2 separate regions of the Homo sapiens genome follow, and region 1 is linked to region 2. Evidence: promoter capture Hi-C in 16 types of primary human blood cells and fetal thymus (Javierre and others, 2016). All regions are on one chromosome and are shown on one strand. The core of a region is centred on a gene start or on the middle of the fragment in contact, and the rest is flanking DNA. Distances in the headings are between cores, read along the strand shown.

Region 1 (3,538 bases), core at 909-3,408, 1.0 Mb after region 2:
CAAAATATCTTTTGAGTGTTTTCAATCTTTACCCATTTATGGGGAAAAAAGACTTTTTAAAATAAGCATTTATAAAGCGCTTACTATCTGAAGACAACATAAGGGGAACGCAACGATAAGAAAAAAAGATCTGTGAGATTTGTGTTCAAGCAAAACTGATCCCATGGATTTTTCCTTTGGATACCACTGGATTCATAATTTTAATATAAATGCAGTATTGAGTAATTGCAATAGAAGAATATTTAGGTTATAAATGTGTGCTTTTTTTTCCCCAAGGAAGCCTCATTATAACTAAAATGATATCAACAAACTATTTTAGTGAACATTGGACGCTTGCTAAATCGACCTTTGTTTTCCAGGATGATAGGAAGTCATCTGCTGTCAGATACAGGAACTTATATAATAAAAAAGGGGGAAAGATCAGAACAGAAAATTACACGAAACTTCTAGTAAATTAAGACACTTATTTAGTTGAAAATATAAATCTAGGGAAGATTCTTTATAAGAAAAAGGAGATTTCCTATTATAAACACTGCTCCCATTGAAATAGCTATTTTATTGGCACTTAGAAAGTCAGACCCTAGTAAGGAAGAAAATGTTTTATATGTCAATATTTACCCTGCAGAACAGACAACAAAAGGGGAGTAGAGCTTAAGGCAAAACAGGAGGTATCTGGGTTAACAGCCTTCTAAAATGAAAGTTGAAAAGCACTGGCCCGAGTTACCAAGAAGGCTCTGGACCCTCTTTCCACTTAAAATGTTAAGACAAGTCATCACCTCGGTTCAGAATGGTATGGCACAATACGGCTTGAAAGCAGAGAAACATGCTATGTGACCTTCTAAGGACCCTTGCTTTTTTTTTTTTTAACTCGAGTTAAACAAAATCCATTATGACTTTTTCAGTTATTCATTCATTCCACAAATGCTTACTGGGTGCCTAGTATGCACATAGCACTGTGCTTAAGCCATGATGGTCCACAAGAAAACTCTAATGAGTTGGGCATTATATTCTAATGGCGAGACACGCTAAAGCAGCAATTCCATAAACGAACAGAGCGCACATTTAAGGGGGAAAGGGGCACGTAGGGAGGGCTTCTTTGAGGAAGCAATATTTAAGCTAAGATGTGAAGATGAACGGGTAACAACAAGGATGAAGGGTTAAAGCCCATATTTCAGGCTTGGTCGACTGGATGGTTAGAGTCATTCATTGGTAAAGGAACTGCGGATGGGAACCAGATTTGGAGGAAAGTTAACCACCCGCATTTATTTACTGGGGTCCTAGTATGTTGCCAAGCGCTTCACAAATTCCTCTAATCATTTTGCACAGCAGAAGCTATTACTTTCAGTTTCATACACAAAAGAGAGGCTGAGCGGGGTTAAAATGACGTGCCCAAGACGAAATAAAGAAATCTGACTTTTGTAATCAGGTTTGTATGTGCTCGAAAGCCCGCGCTCTTTCCACTCCACAGCTCCTTCCTGTGCACCTCCCTTTCATCTGGTGGCCCTAGCGCCACAAGCTGCCGCTTAGGAAGTCCCTGCCGGGAGCAGAAGTGGAGACATCAGCAGGATGGCATCGGCAAGTCGCTCCCCTCCCGGGCCTCATCTGCCAAACGATCATCTCCTCCTCCGAAGTTGTATGCATGACAGGCGAGTGGAAACTTCACTAAAATGAAGGCGATTGACACAACAGAAGGAACTCCATCCTTTCGGGGGCTTACGAAAATAATAAGTTTAAAAAAAATAGGAAGGGAATTCCCTCGCTCCATGATCACTGAGCGCTCTCCTAAGGAAAAGGAAATCTCCCGGGGGGTGCCGACTACGGGCGGCGGGCTTAGGATGCTCCCACGCTCCCCGACCCCCAATCCCCAGGACCCGCAGGACCTCCGGAGGAACGCCCGCCAGCCCGCCCGGAGCCACGCGGCACAAGGTGACACGGACCGCGCCGCGCGGGCCCCTCAGCCGCCTGGGCGAGGCCGGGAGCAGGGAGAGGGGCATCCGCCGGCCCGCGGTACCTTGTACTTATCAAAGCCAGCCAGCTGCTCCGGGCTCACGTATTCGTAGCCAGCCATGACGACCCGAAAACTGAGCGCCCACTCGGCAGCGACTCCCGGCTACAAGGCTGTGACACACAAGCACCACACCGGCTGGGCAAGGATGGCAAAGACTGGGCTGCCCGAGAAGGTAGGAGAGCCGCGCTCCGCCCACCGCGCACGCGTAGCCGCCTCGGCCCCTTCGGCCGCCTCTCAGTGCGCAAGCGCAGCCCACGCTTCTCCCCGCCCATCGAGGGGGGGTTGCTAGCCCGCTCGAGCGGCCCGTCCCCCGACACTGCTGTTGTCCAATCGGCGTGGATCAGGCAACACTAAGTCCCGCCTTCCAGCTCTCTTCGTCGCTTCATTTGCTAGCGTCAAAATTGGTGAGCTGAGGTAAGGCAAGAGAGGGGGTGAAAGGTCAATTTCCCAGCGGGCTTTGCTCCCGGTCCCGGGGGAAGGTGGGATTTCTGTGGTATCCGCACTTGCGTGGTGATCTGGGGTATACCGTTTTAGTCTTGGGGGTAGAGTGACTGCTTGCGAACCAGTTCAGCAGTGCCTCAGGTAAGAGGACTTAGTTCTCCCGCTGCAGCGAAGTAAAAGAGGAAGGAGGTCTGTACCGCGAGCCGCTCCCAGCTCCTGGTGCGGTGCGCTGCGTGCCGTAGAAATTTAGTAAACGTGGTTAGATGTAGAGAAGGCCGAGCTGCTGCCGGGGCCACGGGAGTCTTTGTGCGGTCAGCAGAGGGACTTGAAAGACAGGTGAAAGGACATTGGAGACAAGCCCCTCAGGTCTATGTTGCTTAGGAACCTTGGACCGCCTCATCGCACTCCGCTCTATCAAACCGTTCCAAATTAAGATTGCTGGTGTCTCCCGACCAGATAAAAGCAGTGATCTCTCAGTCTCGACGAGTCCTTAAATGCGTTTGCAAGAGGTGTTTTACATAACTGGAGCCCAGTTAATTGTAAAACAAACAAACAAACAAAAAACACTAGATCAATGGCTAGTGAGTATCTACTAATAAAATTTTATAATAGTTGCTGCTTTTTATTGAGCGCCTTCTGTGGGGAGAACTTCACATACATTATCAACCCCATAACAACACTGAAGTGAAAGGCATTATCCCCTTTTTCAGATTAGGCAGCCTGCCCAGAGTCACTTAGTTACGAAGCTCGGAAATGATCGACCCAACATGAAATGAGTTCTGTGTTATGGGAAACCACTACTTCAGGGAGCCTTTCAGTCTCTCTGGGTCTCTGAAATAAGGGCGATTATTTTGAGATACTTTTATGTTCATTCGTTTAACAACTATTTATTGGGGACCCGAGATATGCCAAACACAGTATTATTACTACATGTCTAATCTCCCCTCCTAAAGCATGATTCTTAGAAAGTAATAGATAATCTTATACCTGGTATATGGTAGATAATAAGCTTCTCCCCGCCCCCTGAGACAGGGACTGACTCACCCAGGCTGGAATGCAGTGACGTGATCACGGCTCACTGCAGCCTCG
Region 2 (3,107 bases), core at 314-2,813:
CCGTGATTGCACCACTGTCCTCCAGCCTGGGTGACAGAGCAAGACCCTGTCTCAAAACAAACAAACAAACAAACAAACACCTAGTAGAAATTAGAGGCAGAGAAGTAGATCAGTGAAAAGATTGGTTATAAATCAAAATTACAAATGCACCTAAAACTTTGGTTCACAATTCCACTTCTAGAAATTATCCTACCCATATAGTTACACATTTGAAGTAATTTAGATGCAAGGTTACTTATAGCAGTGTGATTTATAATAGCAAGGGACCATTGTTTATAACAGCAAAACCATGTAAATATGCATCAATATCAACAAGGCACTAGTTATACCACATCCACCCAATTAAATGCTAACTAGTTATAGCACAGAATGAGAAAGGTTTTTGTGTACAGAAATGGAATAATGGCCAAACTCAGTGACTTACACCTGTGATCGCAGCACTATGGGAGGCTGAGGCAAGAGGATCACTTCAGGTCAGGTGTTCAAGACCAGCCTGGTCAACATAACGAGACCCCATCTCTAGAAAAAATTAAAAAATTAGGCCGGGCGCGGTGGCTCATGCCTGTAATCCCAGCACTTTGGGAGGCTGAGGCAGGCGTATCACAAGGTCAGGAGTTCGAGACCAGCCTGGCCAACATAGTGAAACCCCTTCTCTACTAAAAAGACAAAAATTATCCGGGCTTGGTGGCGGGCGCCTGTAATCTCAGCTACTCGGGAGGCTGAGGCAGGACAATTGCTTGAACCCGGGAGGCGGAGTTTGCAGTGAGCCGAGATCGCGCCACTGCACTCCAGCCTGGGGACAGAGCAAGACTCCATCTCAGGAAAAAATAAAAATAAAAATAAAAACGGGGTCTCACTATGTTGCCCAGGCTGGTATCGAATTCCTGGGCTCAAGTGATCCTCCCCCGCCTTGGCCTCCCAAAGTGCTGGGATTACAGACAGGAGCTACCATACCCAGCCAAAGTCATGCTTTTCTACTCCTACTCCTTCCCTTCCTTGTCCTCTTTCCAAGCTCTCTCGGGCCCATCCCTGACTTCACTACTGGCAGAATCCTCCAGCGGCCGGCGGCGAGGACTTCTTTGTCTCCCAGACTCCGCCTTGGGCTCGGACGCCGCCAGGGTTGCAGGTACAGACTCTCTGGTCTAGCTGGCTCTTCCGGCCACAGGCGCGGCAGTCCGGCCGGAAAGGCCGGATTCAGGGATCCAGAGCGCGAGCCCGGCCTGGGAGTCCGCCTACTCCCGGCTCCCGTCGAGGCCGCGTGGGATCCCGTTGGCCGCGCAGGCGTCGATCTCCCCTTTTTGACACTGCAACTCCCATGAGGCCCTGCAGCGTCCCTGGCGCCGCTGAAGACGCCCTGGAACTCGGCTGGCTTCGGAGGGCTCGGTGACTCTGGCCGCGCTGCATTATGGAATACAGAGTCTAAGAGAAAACTAGCCCGGCACCGACTCCGGACCAAGCACACGTGTTTACCTTGTGCACTGGGGTGGGGGCGTCAGTGAAGAGCAGCTAACAAGATTTCGTCATAAGACCGCGACCAGACAGGCGGCGCCATCTTCGAACTTAGACTTCCGGAAGGACTTTGGCGAGGGTGAGTGTATCGCCGCAGCGGGTGTGTGGGGGGCCCCACAATTACTCCTCCCCCTTCTTTTGCCATAGCACTAAGATATTGGGAACAAACTCCTGGCTCCGCTCTTCTCCCAGCCACAGCAGCGCGCCTTTCAGCGTCTGCGCTCCTACAGAGCACCATCATGCTCCGCACCTTCCCTACTGTGGCCACCGTGCACCCCCCATCTCTGCAAGCCTCGGGTCTTGCCCTCCTCCCCCACGCGGTGTCGGTAACGCGGAAGCCTGTGTCCGGGCGTAGGCGCTGCATACGTAGCGTCCCTCGAACTCGGCGAACCTACAGTAGTCCTTGTTAGAAAAACCAGGGCTCCTCTCCCGCACAGGCTAGGGGAGAAATCTACCTTCACGCCCAGGACTGAAGAAGGGCAGGTGATGGCCCCTAGAGTGGTTGTGGGTCAATCTCTTTCAGCTGTGTCCCAGCCTCTTCCTCGAGGAGGCTCTTTAACCCCGAGGGTTGTGCCCCGCGCGCTGCAACGCCATTGGCGTAACCAAGGGCCAGTTGTGTTTCCCTGTCTAGTCCTTTTGTCCCGTGGCAAGTTGGCTGCCTGTTGGGGAAGTCAGAGGTGGCGACTTCAACTCCGTCGGAGGCAACTCACTTTGTTGGAGGGATGTATAGGGTATGGACAAACCTCTTTGTTCCAGAGGCATATACAATTTTAAGTCAATCCCGTGCCATCACTATTTTTGCAATCTCTTATCAATTGTACTATTGTTTTCTGAATAGTTCTCTTTAAATTGACTTACTTAAAAAGTTTAAATGCATTAGTCTCGACCTAAGCAATATAAATGAAACCGTGGGTTTCATGGGCTACTTATAATTGTTTATGTAAGTTGAAATAAAAGCACTAGTCATTAAAATGTTCGTTTTCGTACCATTAAAATCATCTTGCATACCGCCAGTTGTACCCTAGGAACACTTTAGGAAACAATATATTAAGCTAAGCAGTGTATTCAAAGTAATTTCATACTTAAGGTGCAGTGTTGTGTCATTATTTTTTCTTGGCTGGGGAGGTCAAGCTGGCATCCTGGAGCAGCATGGGAACCAGACAGATTGGGGTGCAATGGAAGGTTTTAGAAACTCAGTACGAATTTACTGATCATCTATTCCTTTACTGTGTATCCAGAATTTGTACCATTACATCCTGCTGCTGCCTTCCATGAGAAGTGTATTTTTTTTTTTTTTGATACGGAGTTTTGTTCTTGTTGCCCAGGCTGGAGTGCAGTGGCGTGATCTCGGCTCACTGCAACCTCCGCCTCCCGGGTTCAAGCGATTCTCCTGCCTCAGCCTCCTGAGTAGCTGGAATTACAGGCGCGTGCCACCATGCCCGGCTACTTTTGTATTTTTAGTAGAGACGGGGTTTTACCATGTTGGTCAGGCTGGTCTCGAACTTGTGACCTCGTTATCCGCCCACCTCGGCCTCCTAAAGTGCTGGGATTACAGGCGTGAGCCACCGTGCCCGGCCAGGCAAATTATATGTACAGGC

The links. Contacts are between HindIII fragments. The CHiCAGO score rates a contact against its expected background, and 5 or more counts as called.
Region 1: a contact is called between the fragment with the promoter of SELENOI here and the fragment with the promoter of GTF3C2 in region 2, in 1 of 17 cell types (non-activated CD4 T cells). The highest score is 6.8, in non-activated CD4 T cells.

What each region holds. Positions count from the first base shown.
Region 1 is chr2:26,344,763-26,348,300 of GRCh38, reverse strand. SELENOI (selenoprotein I) reads right to left here and starts at 2,158. Exons shown (of 10, transcript NM_033505.4): 1 at 2,012-2,158. The coding sequence starts at 2,068. ADGRF3 (adhesion G protein-coupled receptor F3) reads left to right here and starts at 1,512. Exons shown (of 14, transcript NM_001321971.2): 1 at 1,512-2,180. The coding sequence starts at 2,067. RefSeq lists enhancers at 1,254-1,353, 1,466-2,233, 2,554-2,693 and silencers at 1,894-1,943, 2,004-2,063, 2,114-2,343. The HindIII fragment of the contact is 12,799 bases long and covers 1-3,460 here.
Region 2 is chr2:27,355,220-27,358,326 of GRCh38, reverse strand. GTF3C2 (general transcription factor IIIC subunit 2) reads left to right here and starts at 1,563. Exons shown (of 19, transcript NM_001035521.3): 1 at 1,563-1,588. It overlaps GTF3C2-AS2 (GTF3C2 antisense RNA 2), which reads right to left and starts at 1,562. Exons shown (of 4, transcript NR_183827.1): 1 at 1,471-1,562; 2 at 425-519. RefSeq lists enhancers at 1,233-1,362, 942-1,555, 1,373-1,712, 1,763-2,042, 1,556-2,169. The HindIII fragment of the contact is 6,500 bases long and covers 1-3,107 here.